7 separate regions of the Homo sapiens genome follow, and regions 1, 3, 4, 5, 6 and 7 are each linked to region 2. Evidence: promoter capture Hi-C in 16 types of primary human blood cells and fetal thymus (Javierre and others, 2016). All regions are on one chromosome and are shown on one strand. Each heading gives the region's core, a stretch centred on a gene start or on the middle of the fragment in contact. The rest is flanking DNA. Distances are from core to core; before and after follow the strand shown. Region 1 has its middle 37 kb from the start of CAPSL. Region 2 holds the start of SPEF2 (sperm flagellar 2). Region 3 has its middle 10 kb from the start of PRLR. Region 4 has its middle 38 kb from the start of PRLR. Region 5 overlaps CAPSL-DT (CAPSL divergent transcript). Region 6 overlaps PRLR (prolactin receptor). Region 7 has its middle 84 kb from the start of PRLR.

Region 1 (3,573 bases), core at 642-3,141, 280 kb after region 2:
TTGGTTGCTTATATTTTCAGTGGGCTTCACTCCTGAGGAGGTTCTTCCACTATACTTTGCTCAGGGGAAAAGATATGGCTTTGGCGAGGCAGGTGTGAGAATTAAACAAGAAGGTCATGCTGTTCTCAGAGAGGAAGAGCTGTTTCACCACAGCCTGTCACCACACCAGCTGAAATGGCAAAAAGAATTCTTCTCACACAGCGATGTTCTCAGAACCCCCATCAATCATTTGTTTATGTTTCTTTCAACATATCTCACCCATCACCTGTTTTAGAACATATAATTTTAGGGGTTAACTAGGTGGGTTTTATTTTTTCGGAATAAAAGAACTAGCTATCTCTATCAAAGTTACATAGTTTTCATTTAAGTGACTTGGAGGAGTAAAATCATGCTGAGAAACATTGGCTTTCAAAAGGATCAGTTACACGAAACTCAATAACATTAAATGACAATCTGTCAGACTTCTGATGCTTTTGTTTTTCCTTTGAGTCATAAGCATTTCTAGGATTTAAAACTTTACCGCTTCATTCAATAGGATCTTAATTTAAAAGAACAATCAATAATCTCCAGGAAAGCAAGTCTGTTGACCAGTTTGGGAATTGGAAAATATGAGGTTCTTCATTTCTGTACTCAAAATAGATATGCATGGTCGGGAGTGGTGGCTCAAGCCTATAATCCCAGCACTGTGGGAGGCCGAGGTGGGCAAATCACCTGAGGTGAGGGATTCGAGACTAGCCTGGCCAACGTGGTAAAACCCCATCTCTCCTAAAAATACAAAAAATTAGCTGGGTATAGTGACAGGTGACTGTAATCCCAGTTACTCGGAGGCTGAGACAGGAGAATCATTTGAACCTGGGAGATGGAGATTGCAGTGAGCCGAGATGGCACCACTGCACTCCAGCCTGGGTGACACAGCGAGACTCCATATCAAAAACATAATAAATAAAAACAATAACAAAACAGATATGCATAAATCCAAAAAAGGTATACTACTCAGAGAAGGTTAATAGAATTTCATGAAGCAGAGGTAGAAGGGCCCCCACACACCATCTGTGAATACATCTGGTAAATTCTATCTCTCCACTTGATTAAACTTCAACATAGACTGCATCTGCAGGTAGTTTAGTGAGAATGGAAGTGTTACCTACTTGTACTCTCATGGCTCAGTGAGACAATCAACTTTGGCCAAGAAAATTAAAGAGCCAACACAATTATCTGCCTCCAAATACAGAGAGGGATTTTCCTTGCATTGTCTTGATAGGCTGTCTATGTCCATGAAATTGACTACGTCACTCCCCGACACAGTGCCACAGAAAGGGCTCCAACTGTCCTGACTTCAGAGGCTGAATGAGATTCTGGGAGGGGAATTTGGGTGCCTGTTCTTTCCCTCCCTCTCTACCCTCTTTGATCTCTTAACAACTGTGGGTTGTTAGTTTGGTTTGAAAGCCAATGGTTTTGCTTGCAATTATTCTAGTTCACTGCTCTGTCCCCATGGCCTAGAAAAAAAGCATGTATCTCAATAAATATTTATTGATGGGATGTATTTACACCTGCAAGCCATGATGTATGCCAAGTCAATCTGCAGCTACTTGGAGAACACCCAGCTCTGCCTTTGAAAAGCTTGATTACGGTATGAAATGTGACTCCATGCCTGCTGTCAAACCATACAGAACAAGTACATGGTCCTCCAAAGTGCCATCTGTGCCTGGGAAGATCCTATCACAGTTTAAATCACTGTGAAAACCAGCCCCACAGACCAGCAGAAAGAATTCTGCCTCAGTCTACAGTTTAGTTTGCATAGCTTCCACATTCTGGGTTTCTCATTTGCACTGTGAATAGAATCCAAGTATGATGTGCACAGCAGCAGAGAGTCAGAGTCTCTGGCCATTCTTGCATGGGTTTGCCTTTGATCAAGTTAGAAATCCAAATTCAGTATTGTTATGGGTGGTTTGTTCTGACAAACTCTCATTCTCAGAATGTTTGCATACATCATTCTTGTTTCATAAAAAGTTGCTAATTTCATTCTCTTTTCTTTGGCTTGTTTAATTTTCTATCTGAGGACCAGACCCAACAGGTGAGGTTTTCCTGAGGGATGTTTTGGCAACTTTTTATTGTGTTTTGCCTTCTGAACTAAGGGCTTATTTTTTAAATTGTAAACGGAGTAAGCTTTAAAATCTGTAAGTTAAATAAACAAAAAATATATCCAGAAGAGTGTTAGCAAATGATTTCTTTAAATGTCTCTTCTCTTTTCCTCCCACTCCTACTAGAAGGAGTAGAGCTAAATAATGCATAATTCGTGACTGTGCCAGAAGCCATAAAGGAGAATGAGAATTGGAGTGCAGTGACCCTTGACCATTAGGTTATTAGCAGATTTTGTTTCCAGAGGGTGAAAGGGCCTTGGTGGAACCTTGCTCATGGGCCCAGAACCCAAACCGCTAGAAGAGAAGCAACTAAATGTGACCAAATACACTATGAAGTATGGGTTATCTGAAATTGGATAGCTGTGCCCTGTGCCCCCATTTGACAGGAAGCAAAGTATCACTGGAGAAGACTAAGCTGATAGCTGCAACCTGGTCCTTGCTCAGAATCACATGCTCACTCTATAGCCTCAGTTAAGCTGAGGCATGAGTCATACCCAGAATCAAAGACAAGAATCTTTCTAGAGCAAAAGCCTTGAAACCCATCATCCCCAGGAAATAGGGGACCTCTCCTTAGCCACAGTCTACAAGGCACAGGCTGCAAAAATATATGGATTTTTTTCTATACATTTCTTCACAATTTCTTCTGGTTTTCTACATAAGTCTACATATTTCTTCATAACACTTGGTATCTTTGGCCTAACCAACCTCTATATGAGCAGAGATAATAAATCCAATACAAAATCAAACTTGTGCAATTGTGCAATTAAGTAAAAAAACAAAAACAAAAACAAAACTAGTTTCTGGTAATACGGGGATACACCATCCTCAAGAAAAAGTTGAGCATCTCAACAAGTTACTTAATAACTACTATAATGCCTATGTAGCAGCACTGGTTTTCACATGTTTTAAATTAATACATATCCGAATCTCAACTTCCAAGCGTATGAAATAAAACCTAAACAGTGAATTGATACAAAATATGGCAAGTGTGTTCAATCCCTAAATCCAGAGCCAATTAAGTATATAAGATCTTAAAGAAGACTATTAACCCAATCCTGTCTGCAAACTGGGGGATGAGTGCAGCTAAGGACAGAGTCAAAAGGAGGTATTTCACCCAGCAGCAAGGTGGGTGGGCATTGTCTCCAGCACCATAACCAGAGGCTGGTCACTGTGCTTTTATCTCTGGCCCTAGATACAGAAGACACAGAAGGAGAGCTGTAGTTTTCTTATCTATTTTCCAGCCTCTGGGCTATCTTTGCTTCTAGTAGCCTTTCATGGGCAGAGTCCTACACATCAACGATATGAAGCCAAAGCTTAGTGCTGGGAGGAGGAGGTGTTAAGCCATGAAGCATCAAGATGGAAAACCTGCTTTGGAATATTATTGAAATCCTAGTCCGTGTCACACCCAACCTCCTTGTGCTGGTGGGAATTT
Region 2 (3,661 bases), core at 227-2,726:
AAATGCATATCAAAACCACAATAAAATACCATCTTACCCCAGTTAGAATGGTTATTATTAAAAAGACAAAAAACAACAGATGCTGGAGAAGATGTGGAGAAAAGGGAACTCATACTGTTGGTGGGGATGTAAATTAGTATGACCACTATGGAAGGCAGTATGGAGGTTTCTCAAAAAACTAAAAACAGAACTGCCATAAAATCCAGCAGTTCCACTACAGTGTATCTATCCAAAGGAAAAGAAGTCAGTATATCAAAGGGATACCTGCACTCACATGTTTATCACAGAACTATTCAAAATAGCCAAGATATGGAATAAATCTAAGTGTCCATCAGCGAACAAATGGAAAAAGAAAGAATGGTATATATACATAACGGAATACCATTTGTCCATGGAAAAGAATGAAAACAGGTCATTTGCAGCAACATGGATGAACTGGAGGCCATTATGTTCAATGAAATAGGCCAGGCAACAGAAAGACAAATACTGCATGTTTTACTCATATGTGGTAGCTAAAAAAGTTGATCCCCTGGAGATAGAGAACAAAATTATGAGTACCAGAGACTGGAAAGGATGTGAGGGTGGGAAGGGGAAATGAAGAGAGGTTGGTGAATGGGTACAAACTTATAGTTAGATGGAAGAAATAGGGTCTAATGTTAGCTAGCAACTGGGGTGACTATAGTTAGCAATGATACATTGTATATTTCAAAATAGCTAGAAGAGAAGATTTGAAATGTTACCAACGTATATAAATGATAAATACTCAAGGTGATGGATACCCCAAATACCCTTCTTCTTTTTCTTCCTCTTCTTTTTTCTTCTTCTTCCTCTTCTTTGATCTCTCCTTGTTCTCCTCCTTCTCCTTGTTCTCCTTCTTCTCCTTCTCTTTCTTCTTTTCCTCCTGTTCTTCCTCTTCTCCTCCTCCTCTTCCTCTCCCTCTCCTTCTCCTTCTTGTTATTCTTTCTTCTTTCTTCTTCTTTTTTGAGACAGAGTCTCATTTTGTTGCCCAGGCTGGAGTGCAGTGGCTCGATCTCGGTTCACTGTAAACTCCGCCTCCTGGGTTGATCCTTCCACGTCAGCATCCTGAGCTGGTGGGACCACAGGCGCACGCCACCACGGCCGCCTAATTTCTTACAGAAAAAAAAACGGTTTCTGCTACCTTGCCCAGGCTGGTCTTGAACTCCCAGGCTCAGTCGAGCGCCACCCCCTCCACAAAGTGGTAGGATTATTTGCGTGAGCCACGGAGCCCTGCGGAGACTCTGGTTTTACTTTCTGCTCACCTAAGAAGCTCCTGCTGTGTCCCTAAGTGTTCCCGCCTCGCCTCTCCCCACACCCACTGCTCCCTAACTTCTCTCACAGGCCCCCAACGGCTTCCTCCTGCGCTGGCGCACGCTCAGGTCTTACCCGCCAGCAGGTGGCGAAACACGATTTTCTGTCCTCTGCGGCTGAGCCCTAGCGTCCCCTCTTCTCTAAGGCCTTTCGCCTAGTTCCAGCCTGGATACGCTTCCATAGCAAAGGGTTGCCCTTGGCTACAGGAGGACGCGGGCTGGCAGGCTTGGTTCCTGGCGAGTTTCTAAGCCCCCGCCTGCGGTCTGAGGCACCGGCTGAACCATGTCGGAGATCCTGTGCCAGTGGCTCAACAAGGAGTTGAAGGTGTCCCGGACCGTGAGTGAGTGACCACGGCCAGGGGCGAGCGTCTGAGGGGCTAGCGGGGCGCAGAGCCTGCAGCGCAGCGCAGCGCACTCAGGGAAGGTGGCGGGCAGGGCGCGAGCTGCACAGGTGGGGCACCTGCGTAGCCGGCAGCATCCCACAGTGAGCAACTCGGCTCGGCGGTGCCCCAGGTCCGTCCCGCCACCTCCCTACAGCTCACCCCAGCCAGGGCAAGGCCTTGTCACGTCCCCACTCTGCCGCTCTCGAGTTACCCTTGTCACGGTGGGCCCAACCCGCAGGCATTCTGACTTTGTGATGTGGTTCTAGGCAATCAGAGGGTTTAGGAAGGTCTCCTTTGCTTCTGTGGAGAGGGAACTTTGCTGGACTTTGTAGTCTGACCCCAACGATGCCTCCTTCACATCACCAGAAGCAGAAGCATGGTGTGGTGGCTAGTCGATGAAATATGAAGCCACTGGACAAGTTACAATACCTTCTCTGAATGTGTTTCCTTCTCTATAAAATGGACCTAATAATGCTTTCCATACTTAACTGACCAGCAGGGGAGGGTGGGTGAAAAATAAGTTAATGTAGAATATGTTAACATTTACAAATTTTAGTAAATTTTAAGCCCCAAATCACAAACTAGCTATTTCTGGTCACTATTGGCTCTTGCCCAAAGCTGACCTTATTCACCAACCTAATTTTATCCTAACCATGCAGTTGCCACCCAAAGTTTCCAAGTCTGACAACCACAGAGACAATTTTACATGCTGGCAGCTTCCTTGACTGCCCTGTAATTCTTCAGGAGTTCATTTTTCAGTTGGTTTTGTTTGTCTTTTTTTCTTTTTTTGCTTAAGGGAAGAGGTTTTCAGGGCAAGTCATTTCAGTCCATTTTCCCAGAAGAACTTGCTTAACACCAGCTTGCTACCAGAGAGGCAGTGGTGCCAGTTCAACCTTAGCTTATCTACAGAAGTTGCTAGATCGGTAGTGTTTCTGTGGGTGCAAAGTAGTTATTAATACTCTCAGCATGAGGATCTTTAGCACGGAGCATCTCCTGTTGCATTTCTTGAGGCATAAACCTCAGACTCTTTCTTTGTCAAATAACCATCTACACACTCCCTGTGAACTGCAATAAATTCTTTCCTGGTATTCTACGATTATCCCATTGTGTCTCCAACTGTTTATTTGCTAAAATATGATGGACTGAGGACAATATTTAGCATTTATTGTTTCTTATTCCTGTCTCACCATAGGAGCCAAAATAAAATATCATGCCCTTAAGTTGTACTCTTCTAAAAGAAAAGCAGTTACATATTGCTTAGTTTAATTTAGTTCATTTATTTTATTAGTAAAAACCACACCCGGGCCGGGTGCGGTGGCTCACGCCTGTAATGCCAGCCCTTTGGGAGGCCGAGGTGGGCAGATCATGAGGTCAGGAGTTCGAGACCAGCCTGGCCAACATAGTGAAATCCTGTCTCTACTAAAAATACATTAGCCGGACGTCGTGGCGGGTGCCTGTAGTCCCAGCTACTTGGGAGGCTGAGGCAGGAGAATCGCTTGAACCCAGGAGGCAGAGATTGCAGTGAGCCGAGATCGCGCCACTGCACTCCAGTCTGGGCAACACAGAAAGACTCTGTCTCAAAAAACAAACAAAAAACAAAACAAACAAACAAACAAAAAACACCCTTTGCTGAAGTCCCCAGGACTCTATTGCAACATTTTGAAATACTTTTAGGAGAAATAAATGAAATTAATAAAGATACATAAAATAAAAACAGTAGATGCCATTATAATTTTAATTAGTTTTGGGAATTTAGGTTTTGAGAGGTGGAGGATAAACATAAAAGGGCTGAAGACTAAGTAAGAATTTTAACAACATTTAGGCTATGGATAGAAAATTCCTGGCGTCTGTGCTCCTGAAGTGTAGATCTGGAAGCTAGCAGAGATGCCCCGTTCTAATGGAGTATTCTGCTTTCCATTCACTAGCAAAACGTATTAATTTTTTAATCTC
Region 3 (4,053 bases), core at 6-2,505, 380 kb before region 2:
AACAAAAATTTGACCATGGAATACTACACAGCCATAAAAACCCCAAATCATGTACTTGGCAGTAAGATGGATGCAGCTGGAGGCCATTATCCTAAGCAAATTAATGCAGGAACAGAAAACCAAATACCTCATGTTCTCTATTATAAGTGGGAGCTAAACTTTGAGTATGCATGGACGTAAAGATAGGAACAATAGACAATGAGGAATTCTAGAAGGGAAGGGAAGGAGCGGGGCAAGGACTGAAAACTACCTATTCGGTACTGCGCTCATTGGATGACGTGATCATTCATACCCCAAACCTCAGTGTCATGCAATACATCCATGTAACAAACCTGCACACGTACTCCCGAATCTAAAATAAAAGTCAAAATTATTTAAAATAATAAATAAATAATTTTATTTTTAATGGTATAAACCATTTAGTTCTGAAATTATTAATTATCAAAATTTTAATGAGAATAATGTGATTAAGTATGCTTTTTTTTAAAAAAAAGATGTTGGCTTAACACTTTGAGACACAGTGATATGCAGATCTGGTTCTAAGTTTAGTTTATTTTCAGTTTTTAGTTTTACACCTATTATGGCTGAAAAATATACTGCATGAAAGGTGGTAGAAATTTTCTTTTTGTTCAGCAAAACTTACTTTTTTTTAAGTGAATGTTTTTAGGGTGTAACTTGCTATAAAATTCATACTCATTAGTGTATATCTCTAGGAGCTTTGACAAATGCAAAAAGTCACATAACCATCACAATGTAGGTGTAGAATGGTTTCATTACTCCCGCACACCCCACCGCCCCGCAGCCCGGCCCCTCAAAATACGCTCATGCTTCTGCGTAGCCAAACCCTGTCCCTACCCTGTCCCCTGGCAACCATTAATCTGTTCTCTATCCTTATAGTTTCCCTTTTCCAGGCTGCCATGTAAGTAGAATTGTACAGTATGTAGCATTCTTTCACTCAGCATCATGCATTTGAGATTTACACTTTGGGAACAATTATCGTTTTGTAAAAGGAAATGGACAACTCATTTTTAAATCCAACAACTTTTTTACTACTTCGTCATGAATTAAACAAGAAACTTCTGTGTGGTACCAGACATTTTCATACTCACTCCCTATTTTGTCAAGTTGCATATTCTAAAGGTCTTGCTTTTATAAAATAAACTGCATTGATGAAAACCTGTAGCACATAAATGGCAATCAAGCAGTGGAGGTACCATGGCAACCCCTGTGTGTTTGCTGAACTCTTTTTGATTCTGGAGATTATCTTGTGTAGTTTCCAGAACTTGTGTTGAGCTAATTTGAGAACTCAGTGAAGGCACTATTGTCAATCTAAATACCAGTAAAGATTAGTTTCTTTCTTAGAAAAAATACCCCAAATAACTACTATATTATTTTCATACTTCAACTCACTGGATCATCTTGTATACCTAGGTATGTACTTCTTTCTTGGAGAGCTTTGCTTTAGAGCCATAATTCTCAAACATAGCTGTGCATCAGAATAACATGAGGTGGCCATTAAAATGCAAATTCCAAGGCCCCATTGCAGGCCTATTCAATATGTGTCCCTGGGGAAGAAGAGCCTAGGCAATTGTATTTGATATGTTTTCCCAGAAGACTCTTATGCAGCTAGCCCAGCACTTGACGGACACAAGGGTTCAAAGGCCAGTGGTCTAGTGCTTCACAACCCAGAGCTGGATCCAGAAGCACCACCTGAGAGTTTGTTGGAAATGAGAACCAACACCTGGCTCCACCTCAGAGTCACTGGATCAGAATCTGATTTTTAACAAGAACTCCAGGTGATTACATGTATGTAAAAGTTTGAGAAGTGCTGCTCTAGTGCCAGAGTTCCTAAACCCCAAGTGACTGTAAAGTGAATGTTCTTCCTGAAGTCTCCAATTGGCACCCAGGGAAACTGACTCAAATTTATGGGCGTCTCCAACTCTAACTTGTTAGGGGAGATATAAGGGCAGGCTGATGTCACAAATTCCACTTACCAGATTGTAACACTGAAGAATCATATGACTGAGAACACACTGTCAGGTAAATTTCCAATGAGGTCTCTGATATGTAGTGAATATTCTTTGTTTTTTTTTAATTGTAATAAGAACATTTAACATGAGATCGTCCCTCTTAACAAAATTGTAAGTGTACAATACAGTACTGTTAAATATAGGCACAATGTTGTACAGCAGATCTCTAGAACTTATTCATCTTTCATAACTGAAACTTTCTACCTGTTGAACAAAATTCCCCTTTCTTTTGTCCCAACAGCCTCTGGCAATCACCATTGTACTCTCAGCTCCTGTGAGTTTGAATATTTTAGAAAACCTCATATAAATGTGATCATGCATTATTTGTCCTTCTGTGACTGGCTTATTTCACTTAGCATAAAATCCTCCAGGTTCATCCATATTGTCACATATGGCAGGATTTTCTTCTTCTTTTTTCTTTTTTCAAGGCCGAACAGTATTCCATTGTATATATATGCCACGTTTTCTTTATTCATCCATTGAGGGACATTTAGGTTGTTTCCATATCTCGGCTATTGTGAATCATGCACAAGGAACATGGGATTGTTAATATCTCTTTGAGATCCTGATGTCAATTCTTTTGGCTATATACCCAGTAGTATGATTGTGGGATCATATGGTAGTTCTATTTTTAATTTTTTAAAGAGCTTCCATACAGTTTCCCATAGCGGTCACACCAGTTTACATTCCTGTCAACATTGTACAAGCATTTCAATTAATCTACATCATCACCATTGTTATCTTTTGAATTTTTTAAATAATAGCTGTCCTAACAGATACGAGGTGATATCTCATTAGGGTGTTTATTTGCCTTTCTCTGATGATTAGTGGTGTTGAGTATCTGTTGCAAATAGTGACGATTTTACTTTTTCCTTTCTGATTTGGATGCTTTTTATTTCTTTTTCATGCCAAATTTTCTGGCTAGAACTTTTAATACTACGTTGAATAAAAGTTGTAAGAGTGGGCATCCTCATCCTGTTTTCTGATGTTAGAGAAAAATATTTCAGTTTTTCACAAATTAAGAATGATGCTAGCTTTGGGCTTTTCATATATGGCTTTTATTGTGTTGAGATGTTTTTCTTCTATTCCTAGTTTGTTGAGACTTTTTGTTATGAAAGGGTGAAGGATTTTGTCAAATGCCTTTTCTGCATCTGTTGAGATGATCATGTGATTTTCATCCTTCAGTCTGTTAATGTGGTGTATCACATCCATTGCTTTGTGAATGTTGTACCATCCTTGCATCCCAGGGATAAATTTCACTTGGTCATGGTGTATGGTCCTTTTAATATGCTGCTGAATTTGTTTCACTAGTGTTTTGTTGAGGATTTTTTCATCTATATTCATCAGGGATATTAGCCTGTAGTTTTCTTATCATTTTATCTGGCTTTGGTATAAGGGTAATGCTGGCCCCATAAAATCAGTTTAGAAGTGTTCTCTCCTCTTAGATATTTTGGAAGAGTTTGAGAAGGAAAACAATAAATAAATGAAGCTTTCACCACTGAATTTTCACCATTTGAACAGCCTCAGGTGACAAGACCCTGTGGCTGGAGGCGATTGCTTCCTTCTGGCTTCAAGGTGAAGACTTCACTGAGCTTTGTTTTCACTGGTGCCTGAGGTGTGGGAATTAGGGAGAATCCCAGAGTCTTTTCTAGAGTAAGACTGTTTTGATGTCTTTGCCACTGTTTATTTTTCTAACTGAACTTACAAATAGGGAAGGTTATTTTTAGTGACAGAAGCAAAAGCTCAATAGTTCTTCTGGGATTTAGATGTGGGAACTCTGTTCCTCCTACTTCTCTCTCCCTAAGCTCCCTCTCTTTTCTCCCAAGGACATTTTATCTGCACTCAAGATAATGTGATATGGAGGAAAAAAGCACTGGACTGGGACCCAGAAGGACTGAGTCTTGTCTGGACTGACACCAACGAGCCATGGGTTTGCTAGAGCAGAGGTGGCAGAGTGGAGTGGTAGTGAGTAGCAGGAGCGCTGCAGACAGACTAGCCACTGAGTGTCTGCTTCCACTACTTA
Region 4 (3,527 bases), core at 248-2,747, 350 kb before region 2:
GCAGTTTAAGCAAGCATATGCCTGATGTTGCTTTCTTGCCAAAACCTGCAGTGCTCAAACGAGTATCCCCTTAACATTTCATAACATTATGAATACACCCTTTCAAAGTAAGCTAACATTGATTGTGACCCTTCATATGCAAAACATTGCATGCTCTAGACTCAGTGGAAAGATTCAGGAAAAGGATCTTTCGTTCCCTCCCTAGGGAACCTCTGATTTAAAGGAGAAGGACGAATAAGTGTGTAAATAATTCTAATACAAAGAAGTTTTTGACAGGTGCTATAATAGAGGTGAAGAAACAAGATCTCACACATACATAAATCCACGCGTGAAGTATGCACACACTCACAAACACATGCACTAAGTGGGCTGTACATTTCTAAAGCAAGTCCTATTAATTCACATTATATATCCCCAGTACTTTCATTACAATTTAACTGAAGGAGAGTGTGACATATTCTTATAATGAATACCTGATTTATTTGGAGCATATTAAAGCATATTCAGGAGATTTATTTATTATTCAAGGACACCAGAGAAGTGTCATTTAAAACTCCAGAAAATTTTTATCACACATTATTGTGTTCCGTAAATTAAGATCCCACACAGTCTTTGTCAACACAGATGCAAAGTGAATGTAAGTGGGGTTAATGAATGTGAAACATTCAATGAGACATGAATAAACATGAAGTGGAACCTAATGAGGTCAGCTTGGTGGGAGCAAGGTGAATGGGGAGATATTTGGAGTTGTTTTTCAGATCCCTTGGAGTGTTCCAGGAGAGATTCTCTAAGACTGAGACATTCTCAAGAGCCTCAGCCTCACTAAGTACTCACTAAAGGCTTCTCAGTATCTCATATAGTGTATTATGTAGTGTATGTAGGGTAAGCCAATTTTACTTCTCCTCCGAAGTCTCCCAGTATACTGGGGAAATGGACCAAAGTGTACCAAAGGACAGACAAATAATGTAGGTGACAAAATCCCCAGGAGGCTAAAGGTAGGAGAGTTTTCCAAGAACAAGGAGGAGTTGGGGAGAGCAGCAGCTGGGAGAAGGTTTCTAGAAGGAGGTGGGATTTGAGTTGGGCCTTCACAACCAGGTAGGAATGAGACAGGCAGAAAGGAGGGGGCCAGCATTCCAAGCAGAGAAATACTCAGGTATTTTTCTCCAGACACCCGCAACCAACCCACATTTTGCATGTAATTTCAGGGGATATTATCAACCCCTTCTAACCACAGACCAAGGTTAGGACGCCCTGCTCTAACACTTATGAAACTGCAATAGAGCATGCTTTTTGAGCAAAATAGGATTCCTTTCTTGCTAATAGAGTAGGAAGTAACACACAATACCGAGTAGTCAAAAGAAAAACCCTCCTGCCACCTAAATTATTTAATTATAAGAGCTAATTACTCAAACACAAAAACACCTCTGTGGATGTGCCCCATTTTCTTTTCTTTCTTTATTTCATTTTTTGAGACAGGGTCTTGCTCTGTCACCTGGCTTGGAGTGCAGTGGCCTGATTATAGCTCACTGCTGCCTCAACCTCCTGGGCCTCAGGAATTCTCCTGCCTCAGCCTCCCAAGTAGCTGGCACTACAGGTGTGTGCCACTATGCCAGGCCAATTTTTTTTTTTTCTTTTTTTTTTTTTTAGAGACAGAGTCTCACTCTCTCGCCCAGGCTGGAGTGCAGTGGCATGATCTTGGCTCACTGCAAGCTCTGTCTCCCGGGTCACGCCATTCTCCTGCCTCAGCCTCCCGAGTAGCTGGGACTACAGGCACCTGCCACCACGCCTGGCTACTTTTTGTATTTTTAGTACAGACGGGATTTCACCACGTTAGCCAGGATGCTCTCGATCTCCTGACCTCTTGATCTGCCAGCCTCAGCCTCCCAAAGTGCTGGGATTACAGACCTGAGCCACCGCACCTGGCTGCCAAGCTAATTTTTAAATTTTTTTTTGTAGAGGTGGAGTCTTGCTATGTTACCCAGCTGGTCTTGATCTCCTGGGCTCAAGTGATCCTTCTGCTTCAGCTACATATCAGTCTCAAGAAACTAGTGTGACATGAGTTTCTTTAGGACCGTACTGTCTCATGCGTCCACGTGAAGAGACCACCAAACAGGCTTTGTGTGAGCAACAAGTCTGTTTATTGCACCTGGGTGCAGGCAGGCTGAGTCCAAAAAGACAGTCAGCAAGGGTGGTGGGATTATCATTAGTTCTTATAGGTTTTGGGATAAGCGGTGGAGTTAGGAGCAATGTTTTGCAGGCTGGGGGTGGATCTCACAAAGTGCGTTCTCAAGGGTGGGGAGAATTACAGAGAACCTTCTTAAGGGTGGGGGAGATTATAAAGAACCTTACAGAGAACCTTCTTAAGGGTGGGGGAGATTATAAAGAACCTTCTTAAGGGTGGCAGAGATTACAAAGTACATTGATCAGTGAGGGTGGGGCAGAGACAAATCACAATGGTGGAATGTCATCAGTTAAGGCTATTTTCACTTCTTTTGTGGATCTTCAGTTGCTTCAGGCCATGTGGATGTAAACGTGCAGGTCACAGGGGATATGATGGCTTAGCTTGGGCTCAGAGGCCTGACACATACCACATAATATTATGTAATACTACAGTTAGCAGATTCAGTGTTCATGGGACTGCATCTCCACAAAAGGACAGCCTCCATTTCCTTACAACAGAACTCTCCTTTGAGAATTCAGTATGTCACTTATCAGCACCTTGAAGATCTGGGTCACAGACCAATTGCCACCATGATGATTCATCGCCTAGAAAATGGCTACTAATAGGAAGACACTCAGTGTAGTGACAAGCAATGCAATGTGGTAAGAACAAAACCATTCTCCTCCTTCACCCCTCCCCAATCTTAGGATTCTATTAATATGAGGAACAGATAATCTCACACTCATCAAGTAAGTCAGAATCAACATGGAAAGTCTGGAGTATGCACAAGACTAGCTACTTAATTTGTGGGTCCAGTGAAGAATAAAAATACAGAGACCCTTGTTCAAAAATGATTAAGAATTTCAAGAGAGCAAGAGCAGAGCATTAAACCAAGCACAGGGCCCTTCTAAATGCAGGGTCCTATGTGATTGCCTTGGTTTTCTCTGTAAAATCAGATAATGGAACTAGCCAATCTCTAAGCAATTTTCTAATTTCAACATTCTGCCATTCTCACTATAGCTTAATTTATAGTGTAGTTCTCTACAGTCATTATATTGAAAGATAATTTTTCCTAAAGCCATTTTTCCTATCCACTGTCTACTGATATTTCTATCATGGCCACCACCATTCTCATACTTTCTTAGAGCCATCTTGGTTTATTTCTTTTCCTCAACTTCTTTGTTCAATAAGCCACTAAGTTTTACACCATATAATATTTTATGTTTATTTATTCCTTGCCAATCCCATAGCCAAGTCCATATGTCAGGTCTTAGGTTGTTTCAACCACTTTTTGGCTAACCTTACCATCTACATTAGTTTATCTAATGCTGTGTAACAAATCATTCCAAAATTTATTATTGCAATT
Region 5 (3,495 bases), core at 506-3,005, 320 kb after region 2:
ATATAACATAATCCTGGCTGTGTGCAACATCCTTGCAGTATAAGAACTCACAAAACGGAATAGATGCCAGGCACCCAGCTCTGCAGACTACTAGGCAAGTTCTTTCATGGATTTGACAAGGGCTTGGGTCCTTTGCTATATCTGCAGGGAGTATACATAGTAGCTATTTCATCCTTTTATCTGAATTGTCTGAAGAATTGTCCCAGAATTAAGCAATTAGAACTGTGGTTCTTCCAGGGCAACCTCAGATGTCTAATGTTTTCTTTTCAGTGGTTTAACCCACAAGATATCACGCATTTGAAACTTTTAAGAAGAAACTTAATTTCATCTGTGAATGCAGAAGCAAATATGAGGGCATGGGCATTTAAATATGAAGTATTTCTTGAAAGCCACCTACTGGAGAGTAAGTTTGGTGCAATAATTTAAGAAAAGATAAAAAAGAAACAGGAAAATTGGGACAACGGACAGCATGATGGAGCCACCGTGCAAGCCCTCAATAGTCTGCCTCCAGGTTGTGTCAAATAAAGTAAAAAGAACAAAATCTCTGGAGTACTTAAGCAATGCTTTTGCTTGTTTCCACTGCTAGCAACTGGTGTAATTCCAAGGGTTTTACCAGTTCAAAAAACTGGATCTGGGTTTGTGGTATTGGGTTTCTGACAATCAATATAAAATATTGATTATATTTTAAGGCATAAGTACTCTTTCCAGTGGTAAAGAAGACAATGATAGTCTATGGTGTAATACGGTAAAAAGATTTGTAAAATATTACTACTGGATTCCTAATCAAATATTCATAAATGGCAAATCTCTAGGTAATCATGATAGCTTAAAATATTTTAGTCAAACTAATAAATGTAATGAGGATGACTGCTTGTAACTGTGGTAGACAAAGTAAAGAAAAATGATGAACTCAGGGCTTGAAATTCCAAGTTCAAGCTCCACATAAATGATCTGAAACCTTCTATGTCTTCCTGGAGGAACGTACTTATCTCCCATTGTCATCAGCCTGAGGTTTCAGAAAATCAAATCTGGAGTCTCATCCTGAGAGTGGCAGAATTACAGTGCAAATTGAATTCCCAACCAGGCAAAGTATCTTCTGCTAAACTGAGGGAATTGATTAGGAAGGAATGAGATTCTGAAAATCGGAATGAAACCTGTAGGGTAGATCCTGATGAAGCTGAGGACACTTAACCTCTAAATTCTCCTGCATCTTCTTTGCCAGTAGGAGCAACCCTGCTATTCATGTCTGAGAAGGTTCATCCTGATTTTTCAAAGGAAAGTGTACTAGCACCTCTGAGGTATTTTAACTGGAAGACACTGCTGATTATCCTCAGAACCTACTTCCACCAAACCTCTTGGCTTGTAGAACTATATCATCTATATCTATATCTATATCTATATCTATCTATATCTATATCTATCTATATCTATATCTATAAATAAGACTCTAGTCCCAACAGGCTTGAAAGAGAGATTAAAATTGCGAACCAATGGGAGACATACTACATTCCAAAAGTAATGCGTATTTTTTCAATTTATACAGACAGAAATCTGGTGAATACATGTGAGAATGTAAGTTAATAGTGTGAAATAATGGTAGAAGGAACATAAAGTTGACTCAAGGTGAATTTATTGATACAGGCCCACAAAGCACAAATTCTCAATATAGAGTTGCAGCTCGATGGGTTTGGTTGAGTTAAGGATGAAACAAAGGGTGGCCTACGCTAAATGAAGCTGAAATACCAGAATTACCTTGGGACACTGAAGAGGAAGGTATCTAAAGGCTTAGGGAGACTGAAATGTTGGACTGGATTTATCACGCAAGACCTGATTACTAAGGGAAATTGAGTTGCTACTACACATTGATGTAAAGAGTAAGCCTTAAAAGGAACAAAATCATGTGATTTGCAGGGACACGGATGGAGCTGGAAGCCATCCTCAGCAAACTAATGCAGGAACAGAAAACCAAATACTACATGTTCTCACTTATAAATAGGAGCTGAATAATAAGAACACATGAACACTCGGAGGGGAACAACACACACTGGGGCCTGTCACAGGGTGTGGGGAGAGGAGGGAGAGGATCAGGAAGAATAGCTAATGGATGCTGGGCTCAATACCTAGGTGATGGGAGGATCTGTGCAGCAAACCACCATGGCACACATTTACCTGTGTAACAAACCTGCACATATACCCCAGAACATAAAATAAAAGTTGGAAAAAGAGTAGCGAATACTATGTTTTCATCTTCTTTGTAGCACTTGTCACAGCTGCAATCATTTCGTTGGTTTACTGTTATAGGTCATTAAAAAGAAGAGTAAGCCTGGAATAAAGGAACTCTGTTAACACATCACTAATTATGCCCATGCCCTTTTATTAAAGTCAACAAAAAATCTACAATAACCCAATTCAGTAAGGAAAACTAATAACCCCAACTCTTCAAGAATGAATATTTGGGTCCCCTTCCCAATCAGGCAAAAAGTCAATTGCGGTACTTGCTGAGGGCAAAGGTATATGAAATACAAATGCTAGCTATCACCATATGATCAGTTGCAAAAGGATTGTAAATGTTTTGAGTATTTACCTTGTATTTTGTTATGAATTTGTGTGTGTAGAATACTATCGTATTCTTCTCACTTTATCTCCTTAAAATCTAATATATTACTTCACAGTATTTATGTTACAGAATATCAAGAATAAGAGTGAACATCACCCAAGGACCTCCACTCTGGGGAAGAGTTAGTATATTCCCAGTATGCTATAGAAGAGTTGTATAAAACTGTGTTTTTTGACATATGCCATTGTACCTAGTTATTAAATCAAAACCTAATCTATGTGTTGCTCTTATGTTATTTTTTAGACGTGATTAATATCTGCAATAAGTTTCTTTGAAGATATTCTGCCTCAGGACTGGAATATCAGTTCCCACCCAAGAGTTTCCAGCCTGCTGGCCTGCTCTACAGATTTCAGATTGCCAACTCTTAAAATTCCAAAATCATTTATGCCAATTCCTTGAAAAAAAAAGGTACCTTACTGCTCTGTTTTAATGAGGAACCCTGACTGATAGACTTTGCAAAGGAATTGGCTCTATCTTCAACAAAAACTATGGAGTGGTTCCAGCCTAAGAGAACTCAAACAGAAAAAAACAAAGAAACGGTGGACTTAGCTGTGAAAGGCAGTTGGTAGGCGATGGGTAGATTCATTGGAGATACAAGTGAAACTGTAGGGTGACTAACTTGCCAGAGGAAACTGGGAAAAGAGACAGCTGGGAGGGGCCCTTCTTAGGTCCGAAAAAAATCTCAAACATTGTCTTTAAAAACCATCTTTTTAAAGGAATCTGAATTTGGTTGGATCAACCTGTTTTATACTAGATCATTGATAAAAACAATATGGCAATCAGCCGATGATTACTAGACCTAAATCCAGGGATGGTCGGATAAAAGAAAATCACAGTCAAGCCACAACATTCTGTCCCTGCCCTCCAAAAACTCATGT
Region 6 (3,643 bases), core at 910-3,409, 500 kb before region 2:
GGTGACAAATTCCCTTGTTCTTCTAACCCTACCCCTGGGCATGTAAAGAGTCTCTACATTCTCTTCAAAATCCTAGCTGCGCGTGCCATCCTTTTTCTGTCTGACCCTAAGATGGCCCTTGAATATGTGCTAAATTGTGCCTGATTGCTCTGGACAAGCAAGAAAGGTGTAAAATTTTGTATATACTTCCTAACATGAGGATATACCATTATGGGGTGGGGTCCCAACATGAGGATATACCATTATGGGGTGGGGAGACATAATTTAATAGAAGCTCCTGGGGGAAATAACTCACAGATTTCATCTTTTATATACTTGAGTATTGTGTGTCAGTCAAAGACCAACCTGATCTCTGGTCACATTATTTGAAGTATGGCATCCAGAACAGGGGAGGTGATAGTACTACTTAGTTCTGTGAATTCTACATTAGCTCCCACTTGGAGTACTGTGCTCATTTCCCTGCTCCTCACTTTAGGAAAAAGCATGTTGTTTATCTCCAAATTCTGTCACATAAAGCAGAAGTTGAGAGAGTTTTTCTTCAAGAGCCAAATAGTAAATATTTTCAGCTTTGTAGGCTGAAATGTTCCAAGTACTCTGTTACTGTAGTACAAAAGCAGCCGTAGACAACATGTACATGAATAAGCTTGGCTGTGTTCCAATAAAACTTTATTTATATAAATAAACAGGCTGGATCTGGCCTGCAGGCATTACTTTGCTGACCTCTGATAGAAGAGTGCAAAATGAATTTATTCTAGAGGTGCCCAGAAGGCAGAAGTTTGATCAATGTGTAAAAACCATGGGGGGGTAGATTTGTGCTAATTTTAAGATCATTCTAGTGGTGACTACTGTTCCCAAAGAGAATCATCTGTTTCATAAGTCAGTGAGTTTCTTGTCATTATAGGGGTTCAAAGCAAAGGCTGAGTGTTTTAGAAGAATTTTCTGCAGAGCATGGAGAGTAAGTTGGATGATGTGGGAGGTAACACTGCCTCACATTTCTGTATCTTCAGCATGGTACAGTGCACACATAGTAAATCTTCTCAGTTCTACGTTCCTAGAGGGAAGGGGCTGTGTCATATCCATCCTTGCATCCCACCCCCTCCTGAAAGCCTAGTATAGTGCTTTAAATATGGTGGGTGTGACCAATACATTTTTTTTGTCAGCCTGACTCTTTAAATCAAATCTTGCTGACAGACTAATTGTACTAATTTGTCTTTAGTACAATCATCACTACCAGCCATATTAAATAATTCAATTACCTCTGATAAGCTTCAACATTTGAGGACTTTCACCGAAAATAATACACAACATTTACTAAGTTCTTAAAATATGCCAGCTATCATGCTAAGAACCTTACAGGCATTATCTTATTTAATGCTCCCCAAAATCTATGAGGTAGGCACTATTATTACCCCTACTTTATTGATGAAGAAACTGAAATTCAGAGAAGACTCATAGCTAAGAAGTTGCATATCCAAAACTTGAACCGAGATCTCTTTGATGCCAAAGGCTGTGCTCCAACCACAATTCCATTCTGCTTCTGGGTCATTCATTTATTCTTTCATTCACTCAGTATTCAACCAATAACAATTGGTTGCCTACTATTTGCCAAATAGTATTTTAGGTGCTGATGATAGAGCTGTGGATATAAACAGGTCAAGTCCATGCTCTGAAGAAACTTACATTCTGGGTGGAATAAAGTGGGAGTTGATACACAATTAACAAATGAGAAAATAATACATGGTAATTCATCACAAGACATGAGGAGATTAAAAAGACAATAAATATTTCTTGTCACACTAGAATCACAGATATCATCCTAATTGATGAATTTAGCAAGACATGGAGATTAAAAAGATAATAAATACTTCTTGTCCACACCAGAACCACAGGTATAAACCTAATTGATGAATTTACTGAAGTTCTTTCTTGTTTTTTTTTCTTCAACTTTTAAGTCCTGGGGTACATGCTCAGGGTGTGCAGGTTTGTTACATAGGTAAACATGTGCCATGGTGGTTTGCGCACAGATCAACCCATCACCCAGGTATTAAGCCCAACATCCATTAGCTATTCTTCCCGATGCTCTCCCTCCCCACGCCCTGATAGGCCCCAATATGTGTTGTTCCCCCAACCTCCTGCCCTATGTGTCCATGTGTTCTCATCGTTCAGCTCCCACTTATAAGTGAGAACATGCGGTGTTTGGTTTTCTGTTCCTGAGCTCTTTCTTGTTTACTGACATTAGCCCAAGGTTAGTCTTTTGTCCTGACAAATTGTCAGATAAACTGACGTTAGGCCAATGTTAGTCTTTAGTCCTGACAAATTGTCAGATAAACTCAGATTCAGAAAGAAATCTGCAAGATTTCTGGCAATTGATAGAGATTACATATGGCAATTTATAGACATGCATGTGGAGCTCTTGAATGAAAAGGAAGTTTATCCAATAAAGCACTTGGGAATCACTCTTTTGGGGCAGGCTGAACTTGAGCAGAAGCAAGCACATCCACTTGAGTCAAAGGCATGGGCCTTGTTTAGGAGTAGAGGTACCAGGGTGGCTGAGAGTGGAGGAACCAAAGGGGAATTACAAAATCTTGATTGAGATTGAGATGGAGACAGAGGGAGCAAGATAAATAGGGTAAAGTCAAGTCAACTGTCAGGTCCAATTGGCAAGTGTTGACTGGGAATGGGAGACAGTGCCCAAAGGTCAGGGGTGGAGTAAACACAAGCCCAGATGAGGAAGCGAAAGAATCCAATATTTTGTTTGTGTCTTGATGGGTGCCAACTACAAGGGGTAGGTGTGGGTGGCCTAGTTACAGGTGAAGGATAGGAATTGACAAATAGTAGTAATCCTTTTGCAATTCCAGAATTCCTTTCGTTAGTGGATTGTAAAGTGATTTTCAGAGTAGAGACTCCTGACAGCATCAGCATAATCTTACTTTTAAAAATGGCTAAAAAACAGAAAGACAGCAATTAGTTAACATTTATTGGCTGCCAGACATTGTTTCTAAACACTTTAATGCTTTATTTCATTTAATCTTCATAAGTACACTTTGAGAACCAAGCTTCTTAATAGGGAGCTAATTAAAGAATGACTAAAAACATAAGTGACATTTGGAGGGAACTTGTATAATGTCATCATTGAAAATGAGTCCTAGTTATTCATGTACTGATTTGTCCACTCACATATTTATTCAGCCTATAATAATTGGGCACCTAATACATGTTGGGTGCTATTCTAGGGCCTTTGCCTGGATGATGTTATTGATTTCATTGTTTAACAGAGAGACAGTGGAGGGAGCAAGGGATTTTGAGTCAGAAAATCTAAGTTCTGTTTCTAACTCTAACTGGTCCCGTGGTCCTTGGAAAAGTCAGGCTGCTTCTCTCTTTAATGTGTTCTGATGTAAAACAAGGAGCTAAGCTGCTTGAGGTCTTTTAGAATTTACTGTTAAAGTATTCAGTAGCTTTATAGTACATTGACGCTTATAATAAATACTCACTTATAGTCTGTCATTCTACCCTCCCACCCCCATCAGGGAAATCATAGTATTTATGAGGCTTTAAACGTGGAAACTTGTCAGGGATTGGACCAAGTTCCTCTGCTCTTTTCACTGAATTCCTCTGCCTTCCATGTAGGAATTTGTGTTTAATT
Region 7 (3,925 bases), core at 442-2,941, 300 kb before region 2:
TGCTAATTTTAATTTTGTGTAGAGTTGAGGTCTCACTATGTTGTCCAGGTTGGTCTCGAGCTCCTGACCTCAGGTGATCCACCTACCTTGGCCTTCCAAAGTGCTGGGATTATAGGCATGAGCCACTGTGCCTGGCCAATTTTTAATTTTTTAAATTGACAAATAAAAATTGGTTTATTTGTGGTGTACAACATGATGTTTTGAACTATGTATACATTGTGGAATGGCTAAATAAAGCTAATTAACACATGCATTAGCTCACATACTTATGGTTACTGACATTTTTAATCAACAACAACAAAAAAAGCATGGAAATAAGTTTTTCTTTTCTTATCTTCTTCTCCTCAGTGATACAGCCATTTATTTTCATTAGAGAATTATTTCACAAAGTTACAGGGAACTTTGCAATGAGTTAAGTATACCCAATTTTCTTTTCAGTAAATAGCATAGAATTGAAAAAGATTTCACTAGGTGACTTCTCAAGTCATCGACCTCTGCCTAAAAGCTGCTTTGACAGAAGAGGAGGTAAATTGGATTCGGTTGAGTAGAGGATTTCAAGCTAACACACAGCTCAGGGAATTAAATATTTGAGGCCCAGGGCCATGCTTCTTCTGTGGGATAGCTGAAGTCAGGCAGAACTTGGCATTGTCTGCATGTTAGGAATATATTGCAAAATTGAGGAGCAGATTTGAAACCACAAAACTCGTACTGTCAGTTTATTTAGCCACAATGAGGATTTACCAGGGAGACATGAGGGCAAATGAGTCATGCTCAGTGTTTGCCTCTCATATAAAGAGAAAAGTGGCACTGAAGGATGGTTCAGGCACTTAATTTTTTAGGTTCTAACACTCTCTGGAGGGGCAGGTGTAGAGGTTTTTCTACTTTAAATAATTAAAGCATTAAGAGGAATTTATTGAGATGAATTCATTTTAGCAGATGATACATTTAAAATGACTTCCACTGTCATTTATTTTTGTCTCAATTCCAGTTTAGCATTTTGATAAGATTTGTATCAACAAATTAATGAATTGTGGTCATGTGTATATGTTTGTGTGTCTGTGTATGACCCAATCCTTAAAGAAAAGCCTTGTGAACCAATCTCTATAGCTAACAGGACTGTGAAGTCTTTTCCAGCATATATTCTTGGAATAAAATCTTACGTGTTATTTGAGTTGGTTAAAAAAATTTCTGGCCTTGCACTTTTAGAAGACAAAAACAGTTACTTTGGGGTATGTAGATTTAAGGAAATCAATGATACAGCATGAACTTAAAATAATTTAAGATCAGGAAAGAGAGGGTATTAGTTTATCTACCGCCAGATAACAAATTTCCCCAAAATGTAATGGCTGAAAACAATACATATTTATCTTATAGTTTCTGAGTCAGGCACTATGGAGCAGCTCAGTTGGGTGTTTATGGTTCAAGGTCTCTCATGAGGTCGTGATTGAGATATTGGGCAAGACTGCACTCAAGGCTTGACTGGGCTAGAGGATCTACTTCCAAGCTCACTCATGCAGCCATTGGACTTGGACTCTTCAACTCCTCACTGGCTCCTAGCCTCAGTTGCTCTTCACACACAGGCCTCTCCATAAAGAAATTTAAGCGTCCTCACAGCATGGTAGCTAGTGTCTCCCAGCATAAGCAATCCAAGAGAAAAGGCATGAGGCAGAAGTCACAGGTCTTTCATAACTTATCTTCGGAAGTAATACACCATCATTTTTTCCATCTATTATTGGTGACATAGATCAACCATGGTAAAAAGTGGGAGGAGAAATGCACAAGTCCATGAATCCCAGGATGTAAGAATGAGTGGGGCCATGTTGCAGGCTGGCTACCACAGAGCCAATAATCTGGAGTAGCGGCCAATTTGATTTTAGTAGATGTGGATGGTCCAGTTTATTTGGCTATAGGACTGTGAGTTAAGAAATTGAAAGTCAAATTTTATTTTATTTTATATATTCTCAGTGAACACACTCATGGATTGAAAATTTATTTTGTATCTAAACCAATAGATTTATGAGTGTCATCATTCTTTTCCCCTACCTCATAGGAATGATACTGTAACAAATTGTCATACTAGTGTGTGTTGGCATTATGAAGGAAGGAGATATTTTACTATCTTTTCTTTTAAAAACTATGTGTAGAGAAAGTTCAGAGTCCCCCAATGACTTGGCGTGTACTAGCTATCAGTAATACCTGCATGCTGGTTGGTTATTTGCTCCATTTTGGATGACCTTTTCTTTACAGGTCTCTTGAGGCTTAATGAGTGTACTCCAGTAGCGTTGTGGGTTGAGTGGATTGACTGATTACGTAGTCCTTAGATTTCTTTCTGGAGATTTACTCAGTGTAGGGTGAAAGTGAACTGAACAAAATCAGATGTTGTCTTTATTTTATTTTATTTTTTTTGAGACAGAGGCTCACTCTGTTGCTCAGACTGGAGTGCAGTGGCACGATCATGGCTCATTGCAGCCTCAACCACCCAGGCCCAAGCTATCCTCCCACCACAGCCTCCTGAGGAGCTGGGACTAGAGGCATGCACCAGTATGCCCAGCTAATGTTTAAAAGTCTTTTTTAGAGAGTGGGTGTTCTCCCTCTGTTACCCTGCTGGTCTTGAACTCCTGGACTGATGTGATCCTCCCGTCTTAGTCTCAAGTGCTGGGATTACAAGCATGAGCCACTGGGCCTGCCCAGAAGATGTGGTCTTGCTCTAAGTGAAAAATCATGTCAATTGATTTTGTAGGGTCCAGAACCATTCTCATAATTCCCAGTGCTGGAACATTGCATGGATACAAATTTCAAACAATTATATATCAAAAAACATGACAAAAGTAAATAAAAAAATACAAAAGTAGGCATGAAAGACCAACCCAGGGTAGTTTATTTCATATTTTCACCTTTCACTAGTGCATGGAAACACACTTCCTGAACTGCTACTTTATTCCACATTGTCTTGGATGCGTCCAGCAAGAGACTTAGAGATCAGAGATCTACATGTGCTCATCCTCAGGGTGTCTTTCTGTCTCAACATGACAGATTTTTCAGGGCAGAGTTCAGAGGCCACCTACCGTGGATTACAGGATATCAAATCGTATCTGAGGCCTCCTCTACCTGCCCCCCGACCCCCAAGCACCCTCCTTTTCCCTTTGTTTAGGCAAGGCTTGCTGCGGATTTGCAGGGACCCTCCCTACTTTCTTTGGCCTTCATATACTTTCTGAGGAAACTCCCCACTACATGGCAGTGGAAGGCTTTCCCTGGTAACATAGTCAATACCCCAAATCTAGTGCCTGTGTGAGTTTTGGGGACAAAAATGATTCTATCATCAGCTGAAAGAGTGAGGAATCAAGGCAAAAGAAGTTGGCAGAGCCAGTCCACTTCGGTTCCATGGAAACACCAGGAGGAAGAGATTCAGCTGAGCCACTGAATTGCTTTTTGGGAGACAGTGACTTGATTTTCTTATTTCTTATTTACCACAGAACCAGCATCAAGTTGATACTTTTATAGGGACAGCTCAAAGCAATGAATACCTTAGACAACTTACACAGGTCAGGAGGTCAAGAGAGACATAAGCACAGCCTGACAAGAAAAACTAAGAATTCATTTGACAAGCCTTTTTCTCTAGGCCATTTTTGGAAAGCCCAGGGATGGTGCTGGTCATATTGCTTTATATTCAGAATCTTAAGCACCAAAGCATAGTGGGAGGGGATAATTTTCAATTTTGAGGGAGCAACAGTGTGTCAGAAATAACTGAGATTGGGAAACGGGTAGGTAGGAAAACCCCACCAAATGCCTACAAAGTAAGAGAAAGGCCTGTAGAGTGGAAGAAAGAATTTAGAAGTAATTGGGGATGTTTGGATTGCATTTGTTATTTTGTGGTTTGAATATTTTCTATACATTCTCCAGCTGTTGTGATGAATAAAACAAAATT

The links. Contacts are between HindIII fragments. The CHiCAGO score rates a contact against its expected background, and 5 or more counts as called.
Region 1: a contact is called between a fragment that was not itself captured here and the fragment with the promoter of SPEF2 in region 2, in 7 of 17 cell types (naive CD8 T cells, total CD8 T cells, non-activated CD4 T cells and 4 more). The highest score is 11.5, in naive CD8 T cells.
Region 3: a fragment that was not itself captured here is called in contact with the fragment with the promoter of SPEF2 in region 2 in 1 of 17 cell types (M2 macrophages); the score reaches 5.2 in M2 macrophages.
Region 4: a fragment that was not itself captured here is called in contact with the fragment with the promoter of SPEF2 in region 2 in 2 of 17 cell types (monocytes and M1 macrophages); the score reaches 6.3 in monocytes.
Region 5: a fragment that was not itself captured here is called in contact with the fragment with the promoter of SPEF2 in region 2 in 10 of 17 cell types (non-activated CD4 T cells, activated CD4 T cells, naive CD4 T cells and 7 more); the score reaches 12.3 in non-activated CD4 T cells.
Region 6: a fragment that was not itself captured here is called in contact with the fragment with the promoter of SPEF2 in region 2 in 2 of 17 cell types (monocytes and M1 macrophages); the score reaches 5.5 in monocytes.
Region 7: a contact is called between a fragment that was not itself captured here and the fragment with the promoter of SPEF2 in region 2, in 1 of 17 cell types (monocytes). The highest score is 9.0, in monocytes.

Annotation. Positions count from the first base shown.
Region 1 is chr5:35,899,853-35,903,425 of GRCh38, forward strand. No RefSeq gene overlaps it. Among named protein-coding and RNA genes, the nearest start is that of CAPSL, 37 kb to the right of the region's middle. The HindIII fragment of the contact is 546 bases long and covers 1,619-2,164 here.
Region 2 is chr5:35,616,387-35,620,047 of GRCh38, forward strand. It overlaps SPEF2 (sperm flagellar 2), which reads left to right and starts at 1,477. Exons shown (of 37, transcript NM_024867.4): 1 at 1,477-1,669. The coding sequence starts at 1,612. RefSeq lists an enhancer at 1,520-2,327. The HindIII fragment of the contact is 5,837 bases long and covers 1-3,661 here.
Region 3 is chr5:35,238,873-35,242,925 of GRCh38, forward strand. No RefSeq gene overlaps it. Among named protein-coding and RNA genes, the nearest start is that of PRLR, 10 kb to the left of the region's middle. The HindIII fragment of the contact is 4,523 bases long and covers 1-3,517 here.
Region 4 is chr5:35,266,466-35,269,992 of GRCh38, forward strand. No RefSeq gene overlaps it. Among named protein-coding and RNA genes, the nearest start is that of PRLR, 38 kb to the left of the region's middle. The HindIII fragment of the contact is 4,880 bases long and covers 1-3,527 here.
Region 5 is chr5:35,939,453-35,942,947 of GRCh38, forward strand. CAPSL-DT (CAPSL divergent transcript) reads left to right here. Exons shown (of 2, transcript NR_104630.1): 2 at 271-541. Among named protein-coding and RNA genes, the nearest start is that of CAPSL-DT, 2.4 kb to the left of the region's middle. The HindIII fragment of the contact is 4,433 bases long and covers 1-3,495 here.
Region 6 is chr5:35,120,308-35,123,950 of GRCh38, forward strand. The region is part of intron 1 of PRLR (prolactin receptor); the gene reads right to left. Among named protein-coding and RNA genes, the nearest start is that of AGXT2, 74 kb to the left of the region's middle. The HindIII fragment of the contact is 1,790 bases long and covers 1,265-3,054 here.
Region 7 is chr5:35,312,788-35,316,712 of GRCh38, forward strand. No RefSeq gene overlaps it. Among named protein-coding and RNA genes, the nearest start is that of PRLR, 84 kb to the left of the region's middle. The HindIII fragment of the contact is 4,866 bases long and covers 1-3,925 here.